Linked DNA regions of Homo sapiens: all the other regions are linked to region 3. Evidence: promoter capture Hi-C in 16 types of primary human blood cells and fetal thymus (Javierre and others, 2016). All regions are on one chromosome and are shown on one strand. The core of a region is centred on a gene start or on the middle of the fragment in contact, and the rest is flanking DNA. Distances in the headings are between cores, read along the strand shown.

Region 1 (4,034 bases), core at 410-2,909, 440 kb before region 3:
TAGAACTGGAGAACCAACTTCCTGATCACTCATTCAGTCTTTGTTTTTTTTTTAAAGCACACTCATTACTTTCCAAAGCTTCTCTGGATGGATGGCCAACGTTCTCTTTTCTAGATTTGAAAATAATCACTTTTCTATGCCAGTTAAGTGACACTTTATTAGTCTTGGACATTGGTGAAGAGGAGGCTTTGAGTAATCAAATTTTGAAGTGGAATGGTAGAGTCAGAATCCTATCAGAAATTAGAGAAATGAGTAAATCTGGAACAGAAGAAGTTAAAATTATTGAAATGTTGAAGGTGATGTTTTGAGAACAAGTTGTAGAATTTAGGCTTATGTGATTCAATACAGACAGAGCTAAAAGGTAAACAAATTAAAACAAAATAAAATAATGTGAATCAGTTTTAACACACATTAGAAGCTTATACAGGAAATTGTACTTGGCCCATATTCTGCAGCAGCATCTAGAATATTTGGAGAGGATGAGAGGAGGGAACTGAGGCTCATTCCTGCTCCCACTGGGAATTTTGGAAAGACCTGGAGTAATCATTTTGCTTGGTCTGGAATCTCCATTCACCTAAGTCTTTTGCAAACACCATGCATCCAGAAAGCGCCCCACCATGCTCAACATGACCCCTGACTACCCGACTTCAAACTGTGGGGAGAATTTGGAGAGGGTAGGATCGGGGTGTCACAGGGAAACAGGGAGAGGTTCAGAAAAGAAGAGGAAAGAGAAAAATCAGAGTCTGGATCGGTCCTGACAGGGGAAAGGAAAGTACCCAAATGAACTGGGGAAAAATCAGCCAGAATTAATTTTAGAAAAATAGAAGTTCTGAGGCTAACCATTGTAGTATTTCTACCACCATTACGGTAGGACCCCTAGAAGATATATTGAGTGCTGCTTATTCTAAGAATTCATTTGCAGGCTTCTTATTGAGAGAATCAGAAAGCACCATCTCTTCTTGGACTGAGAGTTCTCCAAGGATCCTTCGAGATGTAACATTTTATGAGTCTGAATTTACAATGTAAGAAGCTGTGAGCTCAATTGGCACCTAAAGGTCTGGGGACGAGAATGTCTGACAGTACAGTGATTGGCTTCACATCCACAGCTAGACCCTTGGCACAATAATCCCACTCCATTCCCATTGCCACTCCCGGAAGAAGCTCTAAGCACCAGAGATAGGAGGAGGCGCGGGGAGGGTGAGCATCTTGCCCACGGTGAAAGGGCTGAGAAGTGGCTGAGCCCAGAGTCACCCCAGACCTCACATTACATCATCTGACACAGATCCCATCCAAGAGTGAAGCTCAGGCAGAATTCCTAACGTTCGCCTGCATTGATTTTCTGCAAAACTTCCTAGGTACTGGGGATTTGATGAAATGAGGCCCGAGCTTTATGAGCAGTTCCTTCAACAAGCACAGGATAAGGTTTGGAATTTTGGTTTGTTCCAGACCCCAACCTTAACCTTAATAGGTGACCTCGTGCTCAGAGAAGGGTGTGTCCCAAGGGCTGGTGCTGGACTCATGACTGATGTACTCACCCCGGTAGCAGCAAAGGGCCAGCGTGAGCAGCAGGAGACACACCGACAGCCTCATGGTGGCTTATTCTGCTGTGAGCTCGGCTTTAACCAATGATGAGTGATTTAGACTCAGCCCCGGGAGCCTGTGGAGCCGTGGAGCCCAGGGCTATTTGTACCTAGGGAGCCTGGCTGGTCCTGCCCACATGGGCATCTGGCAGGTGATGAGGCCTGGCTTCCAGCCCTCCCTTCCTAGCCAGGGCTGCTGCCATCCATCAGTGTCACATCCCCACACCTCCCTGCATCCTGAGTGGGGCGGAGCACGGGAGGGCAGCCCTGCAGAAACTCTGCTCTGTGCTCCAGGTGAGTGTCCAGGTGCCTCTGGCAATGTTCCCTGGAACCTCAGTTTGCTTTTGGGCTTTTGAGGATTATCTCTCTGTTCTTTATGTCAGTGCAAGGGCAAATGTGAGTTCTCATTTCAGGAGGACAGAAACCGGGGGTGCAGGAAGCTAGGGGCTGTGGTTTGGTTATAGGAGAGCAGGCACAGAAGAGACCCCACTTTGACCTCCACTGCATGTCTGACAATCAGCCACACGTGTTTCAGCTGCACATAGATCAAGTCTGAACCAGACCTATCCTCCCACTCAGCCCCTTCCATCCCCACCATCTTCACCACATAGGTACCTAAAACATAGCTGCATACACCCCACCTTTGGAGGATTTCCTTGGGGAAAACAACCACTCCCCCTGTCCTCTACTCTGTCTCACTCCAAGATCTGTGTCTTTATTTATGGGTGGAGTTGTCAACATAGCACAGGTTCAAATTTTCTGTCTACTAAAAGCAAGCCTCCAGTGACCTCTAGCCACCCATATCTCCTCATAGGGCTGATGGGATGATTAAATTGCCCAACTTTTTTTACCCAAGGAGCTGCTGGGGTGTCTGGAGGCAAACAGGCATCAGAAATACTGGTCTTCGCTTCTAGGCAGGGACGATAATGGAAAGGAAGAGATGGATGAACAGGGTGGGTGGTCACTTCCCTCTAACCTCTGGGCTCAAGTTTTCCACTTCTAACCCAGCTCTGCTGCCTGGGTCATCTCATTGTTGATGGAAAGCGAAGGCCATCCCCAGCAAAAGCAATAGACACCCTTCTGCCCTTCCACTGCAGTGCCATCATTTGGTGAGTAGGAAATCACCAGAAATTTGGCTCTTAAGTGAACACACATTTGAGAACAGTCACAGCCCAGGCCAGAGCTTTCCATTCTCTGCTCTGCAATCAAATCACTTGGGGCTCTTAAACTATACTGACTCCCCGCAGGCTGCTTCCCTTTCTGGGGATTTTGATTCAGTAGTTCTAGGGCGAGGTCCTCTTCTGTTTAAACTGCTCTGGTGGGTCTGATGGGCAGCAGTACTGAGAACCACCCAGAAAGACCTTTATGAAGGAAGCGGACCTTATGGTCTGTGTCATCAGAGACACCTTGGCAGGTCTGGCTGAGTCCCAGCTGAGGGCGACAATGCCTCTCACTTCCATCACCCAAAATGGTGGGGAAGCCCCTGATGCCACCTCTGCCTCCAACCCTAAGGAGTGGAAGGTCCAGTGGCAAAGCCCATGGCTAGGAGGGTTCAGATCCATGTCTATGGGCTATTGAACCCTCTGAAAATTAGTTTATGTAAACACAGTTTTCTCGTTTGTAAAAGTAGGTTAAAAATGGTGCCTACATCATTGGGTTGATAGATGTTCAAATGAGTGTGTGTGTGTGTGTGTGTGTGTAAAATTTACCAGGTCTGGCCAGGCGCAGTGGCTCACACTTATAATCCCAGCACTTTGGGAGGCCGAGGCGGGTGGATCACCTGAGGTCAGGAGGTTGAGACCAGTCTGGCCAACATGGTGAAACCCCGTCTCTACTAAAAATACAAAAAATTAGCTGGGTGTGGTGGCATGTGCCTATAGTCCCAGCTACTCAGGAGACTGAGGCAGGAGAATCTCTTGAACAAGGGAGGCAGAGTTGTGGTGAGCTGAGATGGCACCACTGCACTCCAGCCTGGGCAACAAGAGCAAAACTCCATCTCAAAAAAGAAAAAAAAATTAACAAGGTCTGACATGTAGTAAACGCTCAATAAATGTTGACTACTATTACCTTGTCCCACCTGTCATACATTTCATGGATCATTACCAGTTCCTAGTTTAAAGCACAGCCAACCCCTCAAAAAAAAAAATCACTGATTTTCAGAACTACAATTCATGGGCCACATAAGGACATATTAGTTAATATCAGACCCCACATACAACAGGGGTCCCCTAAAATTATAATACTGTGTTTTTACTGCACCTTTTCTGTTTTGATATGTTTAGATACACAAATACTTGTCATTGTATTACAACTGCCTACAGTGTTCAGAACAGTAATATGCTGTACAGGTTTGTGGTCCAGGAGCAACAGGCTTACCTATTAATAGCTGAGGTGTGCAGTAGGCTATGCCATCTAGGTTTGTATAACTGCATTTTATGATGTTCACACAATGAC
Region 2 (4,309 bases), core at 1,154-3,653, 420 kb before region 3:
ACAGATAACTGTGACGATCATGGGCTTGTGATGGCAAAGGGCAGGGGTTTTTTTTTTTTTAAGCAACTGTAACTCCCTCTAAATCTCCTTTTGACATTTGCTTCTGTAATAGAAATGCTAATCTTTCTAGATGTGTGGTAGTGACAAAGAGGAAAATAATCCAGGGAAGGGAATTGGAGCAACAGCAGGGAAAGAAGTTCCAGTATTATTTCTTGTTTTGTTTTGTTTTCAGACAGAGTCTTGCTCTGTTGCCAGGCTGCAGTGCAGTGGCGTGATTTTGGCTCACTGCAATCTCCGCCTCCCAGGTTCAACCGATTCCCCTGCCTCAGTCTCCCGAGTAGCTGGGACTACAGGCAGGCGCCATCGTGCCCAGCTAATTTACTTTTTGTATTTTAGAAGAGACGGGGTTTCACCATGCTGGCCAGGATGGTCTCGATCTCCTGACCTCATGATCTGCCTGCCTCAGCCTCCCAAAGTGCTGGGATTACAGACATGAGCCACCACGCCCGGCCCCAGTATTGTTTAAGTAAGAAAGCTAATCCAGCTTTTCGTAATCCAGGGTAAAATTTGTCTATCTGTGGGACACCACTAACAGGATGCCCTGATGCCTCCCCAGGTTCAACAGGGAAGAGGCGGGCAGGCAGACAAGTAAAATTAAGGATTTGGGGTCCAGATATATTTTCCCATCTCTGGGTTATATGGACTGTGTGAGCTTGGAAAAGCCATTTAATCTTTTTAAGTCTCAGTAAATAAAGACTACACTTTCTTTACGTGAAAGTCAGTAGAATTAAATAATAGTATGTGTGAAAAACCCTCAGCTGTGCTGAGACGATCCCTTTAACATGAACCATCCAGTCAGTCTCATCCCGCTCCAAATAAGGCACTTTGGAGTCATCTTCACTTCCCTTCTAGTTTTATCCTTCAAATCTTCCTTTTCATCCCACACACCACAAACACAGTCGCAGCTACCCCCTTCTTTCCCTCTGTCCTTGATAGACAACCCCTAATCTCATTTCTTCTCAGCTTCTGTCTCCTTGGTAAGAAATCTGACGAGATAAATAGTATATACACCTGCTAGGATAACGCACAGTCCTCTCAAGAAGAAACGACCCTGTCAGTTGTTTTGACCTTATGCAAACACGAGTGAAACTTGTATTTCATTGTGTTCACTTTGAGAACGGCATCCAGGAACGGAACGCAAGGGCTCCTGCTAGTGACGGATGGTCTATTTCAAGTGTTCAGAGATTCCAGACTCTACATGAAATGGCGCCACCTTGAGGCTCAAACCTTATTGTTGGCGTTCAATTTAAGAAAAACTCATCAGACATCTCCTACTACAGGCCAGCCTTTGGTAATTAAAAGAATAAAACGGGCCGGGCGCTGTGGCTCACGCCTGTCATCCCAGCACTTTGGGAGGCCGAGGCGGGTGGATCACCGAGGTCAGGAGTTCGAGACCAGCCTGACCAACATGGTGAAACCCTGTCTCTACTAAAAATACAAAAATTAGCCAGGCCTGATGGCGCGCGCCTATAATCCCAGCTACTCTGGAGGCTGAGGCAGGAGAATCGCTTGAGCCTGGGAGGCAGAGGTTGCAGTGAGACGAGATCGCACCACTGCACTCCAGCCTGGGTGATAGAGCCAGACCCCGTCTCAAAAAACAAACAAACAAAAAAAACAAAACAAAACAAAAGAAAGAAAGAAAGAAAAAAAAAATGGCCACGTAAACCAACCTATACATAGGAGGCTTTTTGGAGGACATGATGAAGAGGTGAAGAAAGAAAGTACCTAGGCTGAAGGAACAGTCTAACCTCCAGCTACCTGGCATAGAGTCAGTGCAGAAGAAGACCTGATGGGAACTCAGCAGAGTGGACTCCTAGGAAGAGGGTGAGAACTGCAACCAGGTGAACCAAGACTAGGGAAACTGCTTCTGATTATGCACAGGGGATAAGATCCAGCCCCTGGGGAGCGGTGGTTAACAACAAGTACACATCATGTAAGTGCCCCGGGCACCCCTTAGTGCAAGGGGAGCTATAATTCTACCAGAACACTCTGGATGTATACATATGTTCACACAAGACCTTCCTTGTGGATTAAGACAATATAACAGCAATTTGAGAAAGAAGGTGGCTCAGGGGACACTATCCCACACAGTGCAGACAGGAAATTCTGAGCGGTTTATCATTTGGTCAGTAGGAAGTCATCAGGAAGTCATCAGAAAGTCATGAAAGTCTAGAATCAGTGGCTTGCTCACCAGCTGTAAAGGAGACAGTCATGAGTTAGGGATCAATAATTGGTAATTATCAGAGATCAATAATTAGTAATTTGACAGAGATTTACCAGGGAGGAATCAAAATTCCCCACCTCTGAAGGGTGGCGGGGGGATATTTTTACTGTGTCTCAAGATCCTGCTGGCTCCTTTAAGCCATATGTGACATATTAATCATCTTTCCACATACAAACATGCACTTGAATGACCCCTCTAGAGTCATTTAAGGACAGGCTAGGGCCATTTTTAATATGCTAAAGAACAGAGCACTTTCCCAGGCTTAGGGACTGTGGATGGTCCCAGAGACTCCAATGGTCCAGGAAGTGGAAAGTCCTCACCCATGACACTTACTTTCCTCCCAGGACTGGAGGGCAAAAGAGGAAAACAAGAAAAATATGGAGAAAATATGAAGAAAAAACAAAAGAATGTGACAATTCTTGTTCCCAATTTTGAAACAACTTCACATATTCCTTAAAACAAAGATGACAACATAAAACTATAAAAAGGTATCAAAAACCTCACAATAAGGCTTTTCTAATTACTGGGGGAAATGGCAGCCATTCCTCCCGCAGCTGTGCTGCCTCCTCGTCCTCCTCCTCATTGTTGCTGCCAAAAAGGTCAATGTCATTGCCCTTGTCATCCTCTGCTGGTGTGGTTGGCTTCTTGGCCAGGGCTCCACTTGGCACATGGGAGACACGTGCTGGGTCTGAGGGACTGTGGCCCGGTGGCCAGCAGAGCTCTTCTCCAGCACGTTCAGCTGGGCCTCCAGCCTGGACATGGCCTGCTGCAGCTCCTGCACCACGCTGCTCAGCCTCTGGTTCTCCACTTCCAGACTGGCGATCAGGACAACAAGCTCGCTGTGTTCTCCGTTGGGGCCGCTGGAGACCCTGGGGCCTGAGCTTCTGGCCAGGGATTTCTGGATGTTCTCTCTGGCTCTCGCAATGTCATGGAGGATCACGCTGGCGCCATTCTTCTGGCGGGAGGTGCTGGCCACAGGCCCGTTCATTTGCTCGTACAATCTCCTTTCTGCAATGTCATATTTGAACTTGTCAAACCAGATCTTCTCATATACTGAGAAGTTTGTAGCCATTTTTCTGATGCCAGCCAAGGACTCAGCAACGAGGGAGGAGGAATCGGTGGACGTGGGACGCCTGAGGCAAGAGAACAGAAGACTTAATGTTGTTAAGATGTCAATACTACCCAAAGATTCAATGCAATCCCTATCAAAATCCCAAAAATGGTTTTTCCAGAAATAGAAAAAACAATTATAAAATCCATATGGAATATCAAGGAACCCCAAATAGTGAAAGCAATCTTGAAAAGACGGAACAAAGCTGGAGAACTTGCTACAAAGTGACAGTAATCAAAACAATGTGGTACTGGCATAAAGACAGCCATGTAGACCAATGGAATAAAATAGAAAGGCCAGAAATAGAGTAAAAATAGAGTTACCACATGATCCAGCAATTCCCCTTCAGGGTATACACAAAATAATTGAAAGCAGAGTCTCAAAAAAAGATTTGTACATCCATGTTCACAGCAGCATTATTCACAATAAAACACAGAAGCAACCCAAGTGTCCATCAACAGACACATGAATAATCAAAATATAGTACATACATACAAGGGAATATTATCTAGCCTTAAAAAGGAAGGAAAACTACATGCTACAACATGAATAAATCTTGAAGACATGTTAAGTGCAATAAGTCAGTTACATAAAAAAAGACAAATAACGTATGATTCCACTTATATGTATGTAAAATAGTCAAAATCATAGAAACAGAGAGTAGAATGGTGATTGCCAGGGGACGGGGGAGGGAGGAATAGGAAATTATTGTTTAATGGGTATAACTTTTCAGTTTTGCAAGATGAAAAGCACTCTGGAGATAGATGGCAGTAATGGTTGCACAAAATTACAAAATGTATTTAATACCACTGATATATACATTTTAAAATTATTTAAAAAAACGATTAAGATGGTAATTTTCATGTTTTGTGTATTTTACTGCAATAAAAGAATTGAACAAAGTAATGGCAATA
Region 3 (4,174 bases), core at 1,085-3,584:
CCCTCGCACTTCACACACTCACAAGCACACCAGGCCCTGCCACTCCCAGGCCTTCTCTCACACCTACAGTGGGTCCCCCACATGGGCCTTCCCCTCCCAAGTGGCCTGGAGACCCTAGGCCTCAGGGGCCACCCACACCTTCCCCCATCGCAGGGGCTGGGAGCTGTTTCCAGCCCAGCCCTCCTAGACGGGCAGCCTCACACCCCTCCCCTGCTCCCCACAGACATTCTTGAGTCTCCTCTTATCTCTCTGGAGGGAGTAGCGCAGCCTCCCCCCGCCAGGCCGCTGCATGGCTAAGCCGTGGCGTCAGCCCCCACCCCCCAACCCATGGTCAGGAGGGAGCCAGGGAGTCCAGGCCAGCCAGGCCCACCCCTCTGCTCTCTGTCAGGGCCCAGCGTCCTGGGGCAGGCAGTGTGGAGGTCAAGGGAGCCTGGCCTGCGGGTCCTCTGGGTACCTAGCAGGCTCAAGGCACTCCAGACAGTAACCCAAGCAAGCACGAATGTCTGGTCCCCTCTTCCCTGAAGGTCTCAAACCGCGTCAGGCCCCTCGAGAGCTCCTATGGATCAACAGTGTCTGGGGAGAGCCAGAGCCCCGGGACAGATGCAGGGCTGCCTAAGACCCTCAGATGGCCCACCTGATGCAGAGTCAACCATTCAATCTAGTCCAAGCCTGAACTCTTGGGTTCTGGGTCTGTGGGGTGTCCAGAATCCTGGAGTGGGATGACTGAGGCTTAGGGGTGCCCCTGCCTGGGCTGCTCAGCCAGCAGGTGTGAACAAGGGTTCCTGCCTCCCAAGTCACAGAGGGAGAGAAACTGAGGCACCGGAAGACCTGCTTCTCTCCTCCACAGGACTCCACAGGAATCTGGGGCTTGAAACTTGGGCCTTGGTTCCCTGCCCTGTAGCCCTGATAGGTTCACACATGAAGGGAAGGTTCTCAATGCACCAAGGAGCAGGATGTGGCCTTAGGGACTAGAGGGAGCTCGGGGCAGGGGCTGGGCTCGCTGCATTGGTAGACAGGGGCACAAAAGGGGGCCAGAGGGTCTGGCTAGATGTTCCAGGGAGGTTCTGAGAAGCGGAGTGGGCTGGGAGGCAGTCAGCCAGAACTTCCCCTCCCCCTCCCACTGCGGTCCCATCCCTCCAGAACCCAGCACCAGGAGGAGTGGTGGCCCTGCAGGAGGGGCAGGGGTCGTCCAGGAAAAGACAGGGAGTTGGTTAGATGGAGGAGCAGACCTCCAAAACCAATGTAGGGGTGGGGGCAGAAGAAGATATTATGGGGTGTATGTCAATTCCACCCCAGAGGGCTCCTTTCGGTCAAGTGGGGGTGAGGTCACTCTTTGAGGGGGCGAGGTCAGAGAGGCACAGCTCCAGGGTTGGGGGGACATAGTGCTGAGGAGCCTCAGAGGGCTGGTGGGATGCAGTTCACAGCACTAGAAGGGTCTCAGAGAGCAGAGGTGACCGGTGGCAGGGATGTCAGCTTCAAGAAGGTTCCAGCCCCAGGAGAGCATGCTAGGGAGGGGGGTCCCAGCCCCAAACAGGAGAGCAGTCACTAGGCAGCATTGTGGAAAGCAGGTGGCAGTCTCCAAGGGGATCCAGGCTCGAAAGTGGTCCTACCCTCATGGAAGCACAGTGGGGAGGTCCCAGCTCCTAGAAGTCATGGGGGATGGCGCCAACCAGAAGGGCACACAGGGGGTCTTGGTCTCTAGGCGGGGGTCACAGATTCTGGGAAGCAGGCTGGGGTCCAGCCTCAAGAGGTACGGAAGGTCCTAGAAGGCACACCGGGGGTCTGGGCCTTGAATGGGGTTGTATCCCGCTTGGGGTTCTGGGGAAGCAAAGTAGAGGGTCCCCAGACTCGGGAAGTTTGCTGGGGGCGAGAGTGTCACAATTTAGGGAAAGTTCCGGGTCCTGGAAGGCTCAAAGGAGTCCGGACCTGGAAGGGGACACAGTCCCAAGGAAGCTGCGAGTTGAGGAGCGGGGAGGGGGAGCCCAACTTCAGCGGCGGTGGGTGGTAACCGCTGGGGGACTCCCAGCCCCGGGAGCCTGTCTTGGCGGGCTGGTGCCAGCCTGAAGGAGGGTCCCAGCCAGAGGAGGCGGAAACACAGCGAGGAGCCCCAGTTCCCGGGGAGATCAGCCGGGGGTTCCCAGCGCCAGAGGGTCGCCGCCGCCAGCCCGCGGTCTCTCACCTTCGAAGAAGCGCTGCAGCGCCTCCGTCTCGTCCACCACCTCCATGTCCCGCCTGCCCGGCGCACACTCCAGCCGCGGCCCCGCTACAGCCCGGCCCGGGGGCGCGGCATCGCCGGCGCGGCCCGCGCGACAGTCCCGGCTGGGCTCCGGCTACGGTCCCGCCCGGTCCGCCGCCGCGCTTGCCCCCCGCGCGTCCCTGGCCCGGCCCCTGCCCGCCCCACGCGCCCCGCCCGCCGCGCCCAGCGCCCCCTGCCGGCCCGCGCCGCGCCCAGCCCGGCCGCGGGCACCACGCTCCCGACTCCTGCAGGCGGCGCTCAGCGCTGGGCAGTCCTAGGCTTGCGGGGCGCGGGGCCGTCCCGGGTCGGGGGACGCGAGACCGTCCCAGGCTTGAGGGGCGCGGGGCCTTCCCGGGTCGGGGTGGGGGCGAAGGGCCGCTTGGCCTCTGTGGGGTCGGGACTGGAAGGGTGTGCCCTCGCCGTCCTCGCCTTCGTCTTGCACGGGACAAGATGTCACGATTCCGAATCCAAACCTCAGAGACAGCCCCCATCCCTCTCGTTAGCCACCCACACACCCCGCTCAGCAACAATAACAACCTGCATTTAGGGAACGTGTGTTATGTGCCAGGCCACACAGGCATTATCTCATGTACTCCTCACAGGCACCTTATCAAGGAGATGCTGTTGTTACCTGCATTTTACAGATGGGGAAACTGAGGCTCAATGCATTAAGGACTGCCAGGAAGCCCTGTCCTGTGGCTGTGATGATGGAAATGTTCCCTGTGTTGTTCAGTATGGTAGTCACTGGCCACAAGTGAGCACTGGAAATGTGCCTATTGAGACTGAGGAACTGATTTTTTCATTTTGTTTAATTGTAATTAAACAGTTACGTGTGGCTGTGGTATTGGACAATGCAGGTCTAAAAGCTCCTTTTTTTTTTGAGATGGAGTTCGGCTCTGTCGCCCAGGCTGGAGTGCAATGGCGCGATCTCAGCTCACTGCAACATCTGCCTCCTCGGTTCAAGCGATTCTCCTGCCTCAGCCTCCCCAGTAACTGGGATTACAGGCGCCACCACGCTGGGCTAACTTGTATTTTTAGTAGAGACGGGGTTTCCTCATGTTGGCCAGGCTGGTCTCGAACTCCTGACCTTAGGTGATCAGCCCACGTTGGCCTCCCAAACTGCTGGGATTACAGGCATGAGCCACCGCTCCCCGCCCTGCCTAAGAGTTTCAAGGTCATTAAAGTTCAGAGCCAAATCCTGGCTGCCCCGGGAATCCGAACTCTCCTTTGCCGTGGCCCTGTCTGGTATAATGAAACCTGGAGGTTCTAACTCGATATAAGTCCAGGATAAAGCGGTTGTCCTTGTGCCCCTGCCTTCACCCTTATGACTGACTGCCTCCACATCTCTGTCCTGCCCAACTTGCACAGCCTCTCGTCTCACTGATATCCCCTTCAGTTCTCCCAAATCACCCTTTCTGAAACATACATCCGATCATGTCATTCCTTTGCAAAACTAAGTTTCCCTTTGCACTCAAAACAATATCTGAATGTCTTGCTCTGGTTTCTCAGGCCCCGCCTCTACCACTGGCCTCAGCTCTTCCCCTCTCTCCATTGCTCACTGAATAACAGCCACCAAGACCTCCTTGCCATTGCTCAAACATGCAAGGCCTACACCTGCCACAGGGCCTTGGCACATGCTATTCCATCTGTTTACAATGCTTGTCTCCACATGGCTACTTCTTTGTAGCAGTTGGTCTCAGCTCAAATGTCATGTCCCCAACCAGCCTACCTAAAGCAGTTCTCCCTACCTAGGCCTTTCTTGCTCACCATGTAAAAGATTCCTATTTAGTTTCTGTTATTATCCTTCTTGCTCTAGAATGGAAGCCCTACGAGGGCAAGATATTTTTCTGTATCGGTCACTGCTATAGCTTCAACACCAAGAACATGACCTGGCACACAGTAGGTGCTCAATAAATGTGTTGAATGAATGTATGGTGG

What was found. The method cuts DNA at HindIII sites, captures the fragments that hold promoters and counts their contacts. A CHiCAGO score of 5 or more calls a contact.
Region 1: a contact is called between the fragment with the promoter of SCGB1D1 here and the fragment with the promoter of MYRF in region 3, in 4 of 17 cell types (naive B cells, neutrophils, total CD8 T cells and 1 more). The highest score is 7.6, in naive B cells.
Region 2: a contact is called between a fragment that was not itself captured here and the fragment with the promoter of MYRF in region 3, in 1 of 17 cell types (neutrophils). The highest score is 6.0, in neutrophils.

What each region holds. Positions count from the first base shown.
Region 1 is chr11:62,187,841-62,191,874 of GRCh38, reverse strand. It overlaps SCGB1D1 (secretoglobin family 1D member 1), which reads right to left and starts at 1,659. Exons shown (of 3, transcript NM_006552.2): 1 at 1,536-1,659. The coding sequence starts at 1,590. The HindIII fragment of the contact is 8,999 bases long and covers 421-4,034 here.
Region 2 is chr11:62,168,340-62,172,648 of GRCh38, reverse strand. It overlaps the pseudogene EEF1DP8. Among named protein-coding and RNA genes, the nearest start is that of SCGB1D1, 20 kb to the left of the region's middle. The HindIII fragment of the contact is 5,233 bases long and covers 1-4,309 here.
Region 3 is chr11:61,750,796-61,754,969 of GRCh38, reverse strand. MYRF (myelin regulatory factor) reads right to left here and starts at 2,334. Exons shown (of 27, transcript NM_001127392.3): 1 at 2,180-2,334. The coding sequence starts at 2,225. It overlaps MYRF-AS1 (MYRF antisense RNA 1), which reads left to right. Exons shown (of 4, transcript NR_026882.1): 4 at 525-941. RefSeq lists silencers at 2,185-2,284, 2,405-2,544. The HindIII fragment of the contact is 15,547 bases long and covers 1-4,174 here.